2 separate regions of the Homo sapiens genome follow, and region 1 is linked to region 2. The links are contacts of gene promoters, found by promoter capture Hi-C in blood cells and fetal thymus (Javierre and others, 2016). All regions are on one chromosome and are shown on one strand. The core of a region is centred on a gene start or on the middle of the fragment in contact, and the rest is flanking DNA. Distances in the headings are between cores, read along the strand shown.

Region 1 (5,614 bases), core at 2,940-5,439, 4.0 Mb after region 2:
AGATAATTTTAAAACAAAAAGGTATTTATTAAAGATCAAAGTTCAAAGAGTTTTTTTATAAAGCTGAATAGAGCTCTGGAAATATTTTCATTATTAATATAACACCTTTATGCTATAAGTCCTTAAAAACAGTCAAACAAAGTGAGATCTGTAACAACACTAGGGCAAAAAGGACCAACCACACTTTCCAGGAATTAACAGTCTTTTTGAGGAGTTTGCTCTGGACTCACTCTCCTGACAGTAGGAGAGTAAAAAGAAGACTCACCCCTAAGTGTTTCAAGAAAGCAGTTTTGAAAGAAAACATGACTGATTTCATCATTTGCCCAACAGTCTAAAAAATAGTAATTACGAGGCTCATCCTAACACTTTTTAAAAAACTGGAAACAAAGCCATGCTATTTAATAGCTTTTAAGATATGTAGAAATATTCTTTTAAAAAGTATGCCTATATTTGCCACGTTGTAAGGCACATAAGAATATGAAAATAGGATTTTAGACATATTCTATAAACTCTTCTCACTGTTAGCACTTAATAAAATGCTAAATGTCAGCAAAACAGAATAGCAATAACCTGCCCATGGTGATATCTAAAAATTAATGAGATGCCTGAGAGAAAATGCAACAAAGTACTGTTGATTCTTAACGTATTTTTTTTAATATAGATGTTGGTTTTCCCCCTGGGAGATTAAAAATGTTACTTAATGATCTTAGAATAAAAAAAAAAATTACTCTCCTTGAATAATGTCTCCCTATTATGTACTAATATAATTTTTAAAATAAATATTAAATATTTGTAAACCTGTACAAATGTGATGTTTTTGGCTTGCACTGTGCCTTTTTAGAGAGTAGAACCAGTATTTGCTCCAAGTATGCAAATATCACAGGCAAAAAAAAAAAAATCCTTCCTCTTTTTTCTTTTCTAGCTTCAGAATGCCTTAGTTCGCTAATTTTCTGTCACGAGCTTTAAGAAGGTAGGTACTATAGAATCAACTTCTGTCTCCAGGGCTTCTGCGGCACAGCTCTTGTTACTCCATATTACATTCCTGCCAAGCACAGAAATAGAGTAATTTACTCTTTCTCAGCTTTGACAGGTGCCACTCTGCAGAGAGGGAGTGAGAAAGTAGCAGACAAAACCACAAACTTCAGGATATTAAATAGAGTGTGCATCTCTTTCCTGGACGTGCCAATTTGCTTGGGAATCTTGCCGAATGAATAAATGGGTAAAAAGAAAAGATTATGTCTTTGATTTCATTACTCAGGAATGTTCTAATATATTTTTAAATGGTGGAATTAGTCATAGGTTTAATATTTAGGCATTCAGATCTGGTTTTTTTTTTTCACTTTCATTCTAATGAATATATCTTAGCCTTGATAAAACACAGAGAATGAGAGATAAACAGTAAACATATTAAAAACAAGCATACTTCTCCACAGTCCAGAAAAAATAAAGCTTGAAAATTTTGTGATCAAAATTCAAGTCAAGATCTATGGCATTATGTATACATAACATTATATATTAGATAAATTATATATTATATAATGAAGACCAAAAAGTGCATAACTGCTGCAAATGATTAACCTGTGTTTTGTTTTTTGTTTTTTCAAATAAGTTATCTTTGTGACTACAATTTGATAGGAGCTCAACAAATGTTAGGTAAATAAAGTTTTAAATATTACATACATTTTATTGTCCACCTACTATGTGCTAAGCACACAGAACATGTGCATTACTTCTAATGCTCACAATCCTTAAAAGTATTTTATTTCCATTATAGAGATGAGAATTGTACATCAGTCCAAAAGTATTAATTAAATTCATAAAAGATCTTATTTAGAGACATTTAAGAATAGGTATTGTTCTAATATAACAGTACTATTTATAAATAAAATTTCATAAATTGAAGCAATTTTACCAAAGTGAAAATTGTCAGATATTATGTTATTCTAAGCAAGTATGCTGGTTTCAGTAATCCTTGATATAAACTTCCATTCCAAAGGCTGGGTTATTTGACAAGTTTCTGCACTGGATTAAATTCTTTGGCAATTCTTTCCTGATTCCTTTCATTGGCTACTCTGCAGATGTCTCAGTGACCCACAGCTCAGTGTTTTGCTCTCTGCTCAATCCACACTCCATCCTTCGAATACTGGCTTTCAAACTTTTGAGCATGCCACACAATTAGGTATATATTTTATAATGTAACACACAATACACTGAATAAAATAGAAACAAAAATGTCATGAAGCAATACTTATCCTACAATATGGGATAAATCTGATATTTTTTACTCTGTGCTTGTTTTTTTAAATGCTGGTTGTTACTCATTACATTGATTTCCTGACTCATTAATGGGGCACAACTCACAATATGACAGCACTGTTCTGGGTGATCTCCAGTGCCATAGCTTTAAATATGATCTGACTCTTACATGTATATCCCAGCCGTATCTTCTCCTCTAACTCCAGACTACTATATTCTACTTGACATCTCCATGTGGATGTTTTTCTAAACCTGCTCCCCTTCCCTTCGTGTTCTACTTCCTGGTAAAATGGCAACACCAATTACCCAGATGCTTAGGCCAAAAACTCAAAAGTCCCACTCAACTTCTTTTTTTCTCTCTCTCATACCCTGCCATCTCTACCTTTGAAGTATATGCTAAATCCAACTCCTCAGCACCTCTACCACTACCACCTTAATCTAAGTCATCGCCAGTGCTTACAAGGACTACTGCAAAAGCCTATTAACTATTTTCCTCCACTTTCCATAAAACAGTCCATTCTCCAACAACAGGGTGATCCTTAAAAACATAAATCAGATGTCTCGTGCTCAAAACCATCCAATGGCTCTTCAGCACACTCAAAATAAAATCCAAATTTCCTATTATGGCCTATAGGCCTACTGTGACCCTAGCTATCCCTTTCTGACCTCATCTCTTATCCTTCTTCACTCCCTTCCAGCCATAGCTGTCCTTGCTGTTTTTGGAAGGTGCCACTTGAGAATATTTGTACTTGCTATTGCTTTGCCTAGAATGCTTTTCTCCAAGAGATTCACAGGGCTTGCTCCCTCATTTCATTGATTTTTCTGCATAAATATTAACTCAGAACAGCCTCTCCTGACTGCCTGAATTGAAAAAGCACACCCTAGCCTCTTACCTAGCTTCCCTTTTTCTTCATAGCTCTTATCACCTAACACTATAACATCTCCAGTGCTTAATGAACTGAAACTTTAGTTCAAGGAATGAATGTACATATATGAATGTCAGAAATCACTGTCTGAGAGTATTATTAATAACTTTAGTCTTGGTACAATGTGTATCTCATTCTTCATGACACCATTCTTTCTTTTCCAAATTAATAACTCTATTTTAAGGACCAACTAAGTATAAATTAAAATGAAGAAATAAGATCACCTTTGTGAGGTGAATCGGGAAAAGTATAAATGGAATCTAACCAAACTCATAAATAAAGCAAGCACAGAAGTTTTTATGTATACTTATATCCAGGGCAAAGGAACTAAGAATCTTAACTAGATTCCATACATGTGCCTAGCAAGAATATTTATAAAACAAGAATTATAAAGTAATAGATTAGAGCCGAGACTGTTGAGCCAGACCACCTGGGTGCAAATATACTGGTTCTGATTCTTAGTAGCTATAAAAAACTTTTCTGCATATCTGTTTCCTCACTTATATAATAAAATGGAGACAATAATAACTGTACCTACCATGTAGTGTGCCATACAGAAAAAAGCTTGTCACATATTAAGTCCTTAAATAAATACTAGCTACTATTATTTCTTTATAATTTATAACCAAATTCCTTATCAACTGGCACTATTAAAATATGCAAACCTTGATGGGCAAAACCCAAATTATGGTTTATATTTTCAAGCTTCTTTCCATGAAAGGTAAAGGATTTATATTGATTGAAAAGTTTTTCCCAACCAAATACTGAAAAAAAACATATTTGTTACTGAGGCTGAAAGCCAGGGAATCATGAAATGGTAAAATATAAACGTGAAACCCTTAATCCATGTGCATATCAACCTATTGTACAAAATAAGAAGTTCAACACAGTTTATAAGTATGAAAAATCACAAACACTTACTTTTCTTAAAGATTAAAATTTAAACCTGCCTAAATTCTCTCCTACATCATATGTTCAACATTTTGAATTTTATAACTTATCTTGTGTTTTATGCTTTTCATAAAACAACAGTATTTGGCTGAAAATTGTACCCTATTTTATTACAATAATATAGATTTAACCAAAACAAAACAAAACAAAAAAACATGCCCCTCAACAGATAGATAGCAGCCAATTACCTTAAATATTTAGGGTCAAAAACGATAAGAAAAACACTGAGATTTTTTCAAGCTCATTAAATACGTAATATGGGATGCAGTTAAGTCCTAGAGAACAAAAGCCAGTGATTAAAATTAGCTGTTTTCTTATCTGGTAAAGAAGTAGGAAAAGTTTTTAAGTGAAAAGCTTACAGTAACCTTAGCCACAAACGAAGTGTGTAATCTCTCTGGAGAATCAGGGAATCATCTGTTGCCATGGAGTCATAATGCCTTCAGCTAAACCCGACCTCATAATTAACAGTGATCGACAGCGCAAATGGCTAACATGTTACCAAGTATGAAATAAAATTACTGAATTTTCACAGCAAACAATACCTGTGCTTGTTTTAATCTAAATGGTTTCAATATCTGCATTCCAAGTATTTATTCTTTGTTAGAAAAGCTAATTGGATACTCAGTATTTATTTTTATTTAAAAATCACAGATGATGAAACAAAAGCTACAAGTAAAACAAGTTTAAAAAAACAAAAACAGGCCGGGCGCGGTGGCTCACGCCTGTAATCCCACCACTTTGGGAAGCCGAGGCGGGCGGATCATTTGAGGTCAGGAGTTTGAGACCAGCCTGGCCAACATGGTGAAACCCCTCCTCGACTGAAAAAAAAAAAAAAAAAAAAGGAGCCGAGTGTGATTGTGGGCGCCTGTAATCCCAACTACTCGGGAGGCTGAGGCAGGAGAATTGCTTGAGCCCGGGAGGCGGATGTTGCCATTGCAATCCATCCCCAGGCGACAGAGCAGGACTCCAGCTCAAAAAAAAAAAAAAAAAAAAAAATTGATGGGCCCACTACTACAGAAGCTCAAGTTTGAGCTGTGTTTAAATTAAAGCAAAAACACGTAGAAGTGCAAAGTATATAAAATAAAAAGAAATGATGATTCTCAAATCTCATTGACCTTTTCAGTCTTATTTTTGAAGTGAGACCTCACAAAACGATACTTTCAGGTGTAATACAAACACAATTTTTAGTAATGAGTGTGCTTAAAGCAATCCTCTCAGTGGTGTATGCTCCCCATCAGGCAGTTAAAAAAAAAGAAAAAAAAACCCGCATAGCTTAATGTTTATTAAATATGACAGCGAATCACTTAGTTGTGTTATAACAGTTTATTATCATGGATTTAAATGACTATGTTTACATGTTTAAAATTATCACATCACTAGTTCTTGCTAGCTTTTGCATTTTCTCCTGTAAACATTGTTTTTACAGATAAGCTTAGGTAAAATAGAAATACACCACCTTCTTTATCAATAATGTAGCACAC
Region 2 (5,617 bases), core at 1,156-3,655:
TGGTATTTAACAGCATCAATTAAGAGGAAAACGTAAACCTTGTAATTACTGCAGCAGAACAACAAATATATAATGATTAAATGTGAAAAGAATGTGAAAATAAAACTTAGAGTCTTGTTTTCTACAAAAATGGTGGTGATTCTCATGGGGAAGACAGTGGAAAGATTTGCTTGAGAGAAAGAGAACAGCTGCATCAAGCCAGAAGAACTGGCATTTGAGAATTTAATCCCTAAGGAGAGATCAGACAAAGAAAACTACGTCTGATTCCTCAGAGTATAGGCTGTAGTTAAGGTGTAAGAAATTAGATGAGATCACAAAGAAGTAAATAAATAGAGAAAGTGGGGGAAAGGAGAGGCTTTGGGTCATAACTGAGGGCTGGAACTAGGTTATTTTATTACATTCTATCCTTTCTTTTGAAAGTCTTGTCCCTGGACTAGGGAGTTGTAAGAACCAAGCCTGGTTTAAGGATTCAGGTGGTGGTATCTCAGAGGTAATCTAGTCCAACTTTCATACTTTGGAGCTGAGAAACCAATGTTCCAGAAAGCTAAGACAATGATTCTAAGTTCCCTTTTTAAAATGTATTGAAATGTGTTGTCTAAAAATTAAAAAATAAAAATATCTGTGGTATTTTGTGAAGACAGAGGCCTTGGTTTGGAGTAGATACTGTCACATGACTTCTCACCTCGACTCTTTTATTGTAAAAGAGGAAGATAATAATACCTTCCAGGGAACATTCTTCCCCCTTCTCCATTGTGGTAGGAATTAATCACTGCCCAAGACTCCTGGTTGAGGGGCTGAGTGAAGTGCAGGCAGTCTCCAGCCAGGAGCTACACCGTTTGTTGGGCTACCCTGTTTGTAGGGAGGAATGCCTTTCTATGTTTCTAACTTGCCCAAAGTCTGCATCCTTGTAAAGTAGTGTTCTGAATGTGAGCGATCATATTCATGAAGTGCCTGGCACATAGTAAGCACTCAATAAAGAGGGATGTAATTTTTATGAACTGTGCACTGAACGTTTATTATAAGCTCATTTAGTTTGTAACAAACACAAAAGGCCAAACCTAGAACTTATTGGTAATTCTTATAGAAAGGACACACCTATGCCCAATACTTACTCACTTTCTTTTTTTTTTAGAGTCTCGCTCTGTGCCCCAAGCTGGAGTGCAGTGGTGCAATCTCAGCTCACTGCAACATCCATCCACCTCCTGGGTTCAAGTGATTCTCCTGCCTCCGCCTCCCGAGTAGCTGGGATTACAGGTGCCCGCCACCACGCCCAGCTAATTTTCTGTATTTTTGGTAGAGATGGGGTTTCACCATGTCAGCCAGGCTGGTCTCGAACTTCTGACCTCAGGAGTTCCAGGCCTCCCAAGGTGCTGGGATTACAGGCGTAAACCACCGCGCTTGGTCTGCCCAATACTTTCAACATTGCTCTGGATCTTACTGTAAAATTCTTGGAAACTGCTGTGATACTAAGATAACCAGATATTTACAACTGATACAAAGTACTACTGCAATAGTTATTTATGGATCCCGCACAATGCTGGGGGCAGGGTGGTAGGTACAGAGAAACAAACGTCACTGTAACTATCAAGTTACAAAATCCCTTGAGTAGAAAAACAATGACTTCCTTAAGATTTATTTTACTTTTTACTGTATTTAAGTTTACACTACTGTTTCTTCCTTACCAGGGGAGAATTTTATGATTTTTATGTTGGCCCATTTTCTTTTTCCGGAAAGTCTAAACTAGCATTTAGCTCGTCCTGATTAGAGTCAGGCACCGCCAAGGCATGGGTTGGCATCTTCCAGATCCCGCTCCCCCAACCGCGGCCACAGCAGATCTGGAGGACCGGGAGAGGACGCAAGGAGGAAAAGCCCTGCTCTGCGAGCTGACAGCCGGACTCTGCCCACATTGCCAATGGAACCACGTCTTCAAGCCGGAAACTCAGCTGGACCTCTCGCAGCGCTCTCTGCGAGGGGGCACAGGGGTTATTTTCTCCGATGTTGTCCACACCCAGAAAAGCTTGTCTCTCGGGGCTACTGTGCTGAGCCCCGACTGGTCAGGTTAGGCCACCGGGGTTAGCTCTGCAACTCTTGCTTCACGGTTAACAGCCCGGAGAGCTTTCTTAAAAAATACCGACGCCCACTGCCACCTGGGACAACGTAATCAGGCTCCCTAGAAAAGGGGCTCAGGCCTGGGTACTTTTTAAGGTTCTCTTGTGAACCAGGACCAAGGGTCTTGGGAGGGTGCCGCGGAGACCACGTGGGCATGGAGGCCCCGCCCCCGTTTCCCGCCCCGCGCGCCCCTCCCCCGGTTCCCCGCCCCCCCCAACCCCGCCCCCGCCCCGCCCCACCCCTGCGCGTCCCGCCCCTCCCGTGCGCCGCTGACGCGCCGTGCTCCGGCGCAGGCGCACAGGGGACGGTTGCTGGCCCAGGTGAGCGGGCGCGCTGGTCCAGGTGAGCGGGCGCGTCCCCGCGACGGCGCTGCCTGCCCGAGGCGGTTCACGTAAAGACAGCGAGATCCTGAGGGCCAGCCGGGAAGGAGGCGTGGATATGGAGCTGGCTGCTGCCAAGTCCGGGGCCCGCGCCGCTGCCTAGCGCGTCCTGGGGACTCTGTGGGGACGCGCCCCGCGCCGCGGCTCGGGGACCCGTAGAGCCCGGCGCTGCGCGCATGGCCCTGCTCTCGCGCCCCGCGCTCACCCTCCTGCTCCTCCTCATGGCCGCTGTTGTCAGGTGCCAGGAGCAGGCCCAGACCACCGACTGGAGAGCCACCCTGAAGACCATCCGGAACGGCGTTCATAAGATAGACACGTACCTGAACGCCGCCTTGGACCTCCTGGGAGGCGAGGACGGTCTCTGCCAGTATAAATGCAGTGACGGTGAGGGGGCACCCGGGCCCAGCGAGGGCTCGTGCTTTCGGGGGATTGGGGTGACGGAGATCCTGGAGGTGTGAGTGACAGATGCAAGGCAGACCTTGACGGTGTCCTTCGGCTGTGGAAAAACTTAACCACTGCTAGAATCTTGCCGTTCTAGTGATTGAGCAAGCTGGGTACAAGTTCGCACCACTATTGTTAGAATGTGAGAGGTCACATTCTAACGGAGAGGTGTACCCCCCGTCCCATTTGCATTGCTTCTGAATTACCTTTTCCCCCCCTCAATTGCACCAAGTTGCCGAAGAACTTACTGACGTAGGAATCATGGGAATAGAGTGGAACAGACTGGTTTTAGCTCATTTTTGCTTCTGTAAATTGGATGAACATGCGAAGCAAACTGAGAATTTAAAAACCATGCCGTATTAACTTTCTCTATAATTGATATTAAATGGTTTTTTTTCTGCAAACCCATAGACAATAACTTGCGACCTTTGTACAGACTTTTGGTGTACTCGAGTGTTGAGAAAGGGTTCCGATAACTCTTCTTTCCTTAGATATCAGTGACCCGCCTCCTCCTCATTGTTGGTTAACGTTAATACAGTTATCTTCATTTACTCTTTTAATATTTTTTGAACTTTCTCTTTGAACCTGAGAATTTGTTTGGTGGCGGTATGAGTACTAATCAACTCAGTATTTCAGGCAGAGATAGTTCTTTTGTAGCACATTTTTGAGTGCTTAAATATTTTAATAGGTCAGAAAAATATTGGACTTTTGTTTGGAAATTGAAAATGTTAAGAGAGCAGTTGGGAGATCATGTTTCCAATAAGATTAGCCAAGGTTAGAGTCTCATTATGCTGGCAGCGGAAAATAATCGGGGATCCAGTGACTTCATTGTTGGAACCTGATTGTATAGGTGAACTTAAAAGGAACTGGTATCATGTAAACCTATGATGCCACATGCTGCCTGCAATTTTCAAGATAATTTCTAGTTTTATGTTAATAGAAGTAAAGGATGAACTGTATCTTGTATACTTTAAAGCGCTGAACAGGTGCTGAGACATGTTGCATTGCTTCTTAAATTTGTGCCTAAACGTTACCACCTAAACGTATGCTTCATGAAGATGTTTTTATTCTTGTAGAACTTGTTCGGAGGATTAAGTGCATAATTTAAGGATCAAATAGTTGCCTTTCCTAAAGCAAATGTTACAGTTTTACTTAGTCATTCCTATTCATTATACAAATATTTGAGTCCCAACTGTGCTTCAGATGTTGTTCTAATTTGAGATTCAGCAGTTAATAAAACAGACAAAAATCTCTGTCCGTGGAGCTTGAGTTCTGGTGAGGGAGAGATGGGCAGTAAACTAGTAAATAAGTAAAATTAGGGGAAGTGTGGAGTCTGATCAGGGCAGACGAGGGGCCATGTTGGAGGCAATTTACTCTTCTAAATGGGTTGTTCAGCAAAGGCCTCACTGATGAAAGAATATTTGAGAAGAAATCTGCACGTGGTAAGGGGAGGGAATGTGGTTATTTGGAGAAACAGCATTCCAGACAGAGGGAATAGCAAGTGCAATGGACCTGAGGAGAAAGGCCAGTCAAGGATGACTCTGAAGGTTTTGGCCTGAGCCAAAGGAAGGAAACGGTTGCCATTTACAGAGATAGGGAAGACTTGGAAGGAGTCGTCTTCATAAATTTATTAGTCTAGGGTTCTAGAGTTTATTTACATTTAAAACATGCCTGAAGTTGAATGAATACCAGCCTTGTTAAAATACTGTTTTAGTCTTTTTATTTTATTTTTTGTTAATATTTTTGAGGCAAGGTCTCCCTCTGTGCCCAGGCTAGAGGGCAGTGGTGTGATCATTGCTCCCTGCAGCCTCCAACTCCTGGGCTCAAGCAATTCTCCTGCCTCAGCTTCCCAAATAGCTAGGACTATAGGCCATGCCCCCACTACACCTGGCTTAATCTTTCTTTTTAATCTTTTTCATCTTCTACAGGCTTCTCAAAATTTACTATTTGGAGTTTAGAGGAAGGTCTCTGGCACAAAAAAACACAAAGGAATTTGAGAATTTAAGAAATGTTATATGCCTCAGTGAAAAAAAATTTTTTGTCTTAGTAAGTACTCTACGTTTAACGGACATGTGGTTTCAAGTCCAAGTCACCATACTGATAGATAATTGGATCTCAATGAAAAAAAAAATTAGGCAGGACGTAATGGCTCATGCCTGTAATCCCAGCACTTTGGGAGGCTGAGGCGGGCGGATCAGTTGAGCTCAGGAGTTCGAGACCAGCCTGGCCAACATGGTGAAACCCCGTCTCTACTAAAAATACAAAAATTAGCTGGGCATGGTGGTGCACACCTGTAGTCCCAGCTACTTGGGAGGCTGAGGTAGGAGAATAGCTTGAACCTGGGAGGTGGAGGTTGCAGTGAGCCGAGACCGTGCCTCCAGCCTGGGTGACAGAGCAAGACTCTGTCTCAAAAATAATAATAATAATAATAATAATAAAATTGCTGTTACTCGAGCAGTCTCTCTGGAACAATTCAACCTTTCCTATATTTTGGAATTCAGGTGACCAAATCAGAACCAAACAGAACAATCCCAAATCTGGAGAAACATGGTGATTAAGGGGTATTTTTAGTTGCACGAAAGAGATCAAGAGAGCTTTAAAAAAAAAAAAAAAGAGTGAGTTAATGGTAGGGAGAGGTTGGTCAAATAAAGGGCACATGTCCTTGCTTTACCTGAGGGACTGGCATT

What was found. Contacts are between HindIII fragments. The CHiCAGO score rates a contact against its expected background, and 5 or more counts as called.
Region 1: a contact is called between a fragment that was not itself captured here and the fragment with the promoter of PLA2G12A in region 2, in 1 of 17 cell types (fetal thymus). The highest score is 6.1, in fetal thymus.

What each region holds. Positions count from the first base shown.
Region 1 is chr4:105,709,748-105,715,361 of GRCh38, reverse strand. All of the region lies in intron 1 of GSTCD (glutathione S-transferase C-terminal domain containing), which reads right to left. Among named protein-coding and RNA genes, the nearest start is that of GSTCD, 3.8 kb to the right of the region's middle. The HindIII fragment of the contact is 600 bases long and covers 3,890-4,489 here.
Region 2 is chr4:109,726,858-109,732,474 of GRCh38, reverse strand. It overlaps PLA2G12A (phospholipase A2 group XIIA), which reads left to right and starts at 2,405. Exons shown (of 4, transcript NM_030821.5): 1 at 2,405-2,873. The coding sequence starts at 2,666. It also overlaps a transcript of CFI not described here. RefSeq lists enhancers at 1,411-2,287, 2,947-3,016 and a silencer at 2,277-2,616. The HindIII fragment of the contact is 6,805 bases long and covers 2,020-5,617 here.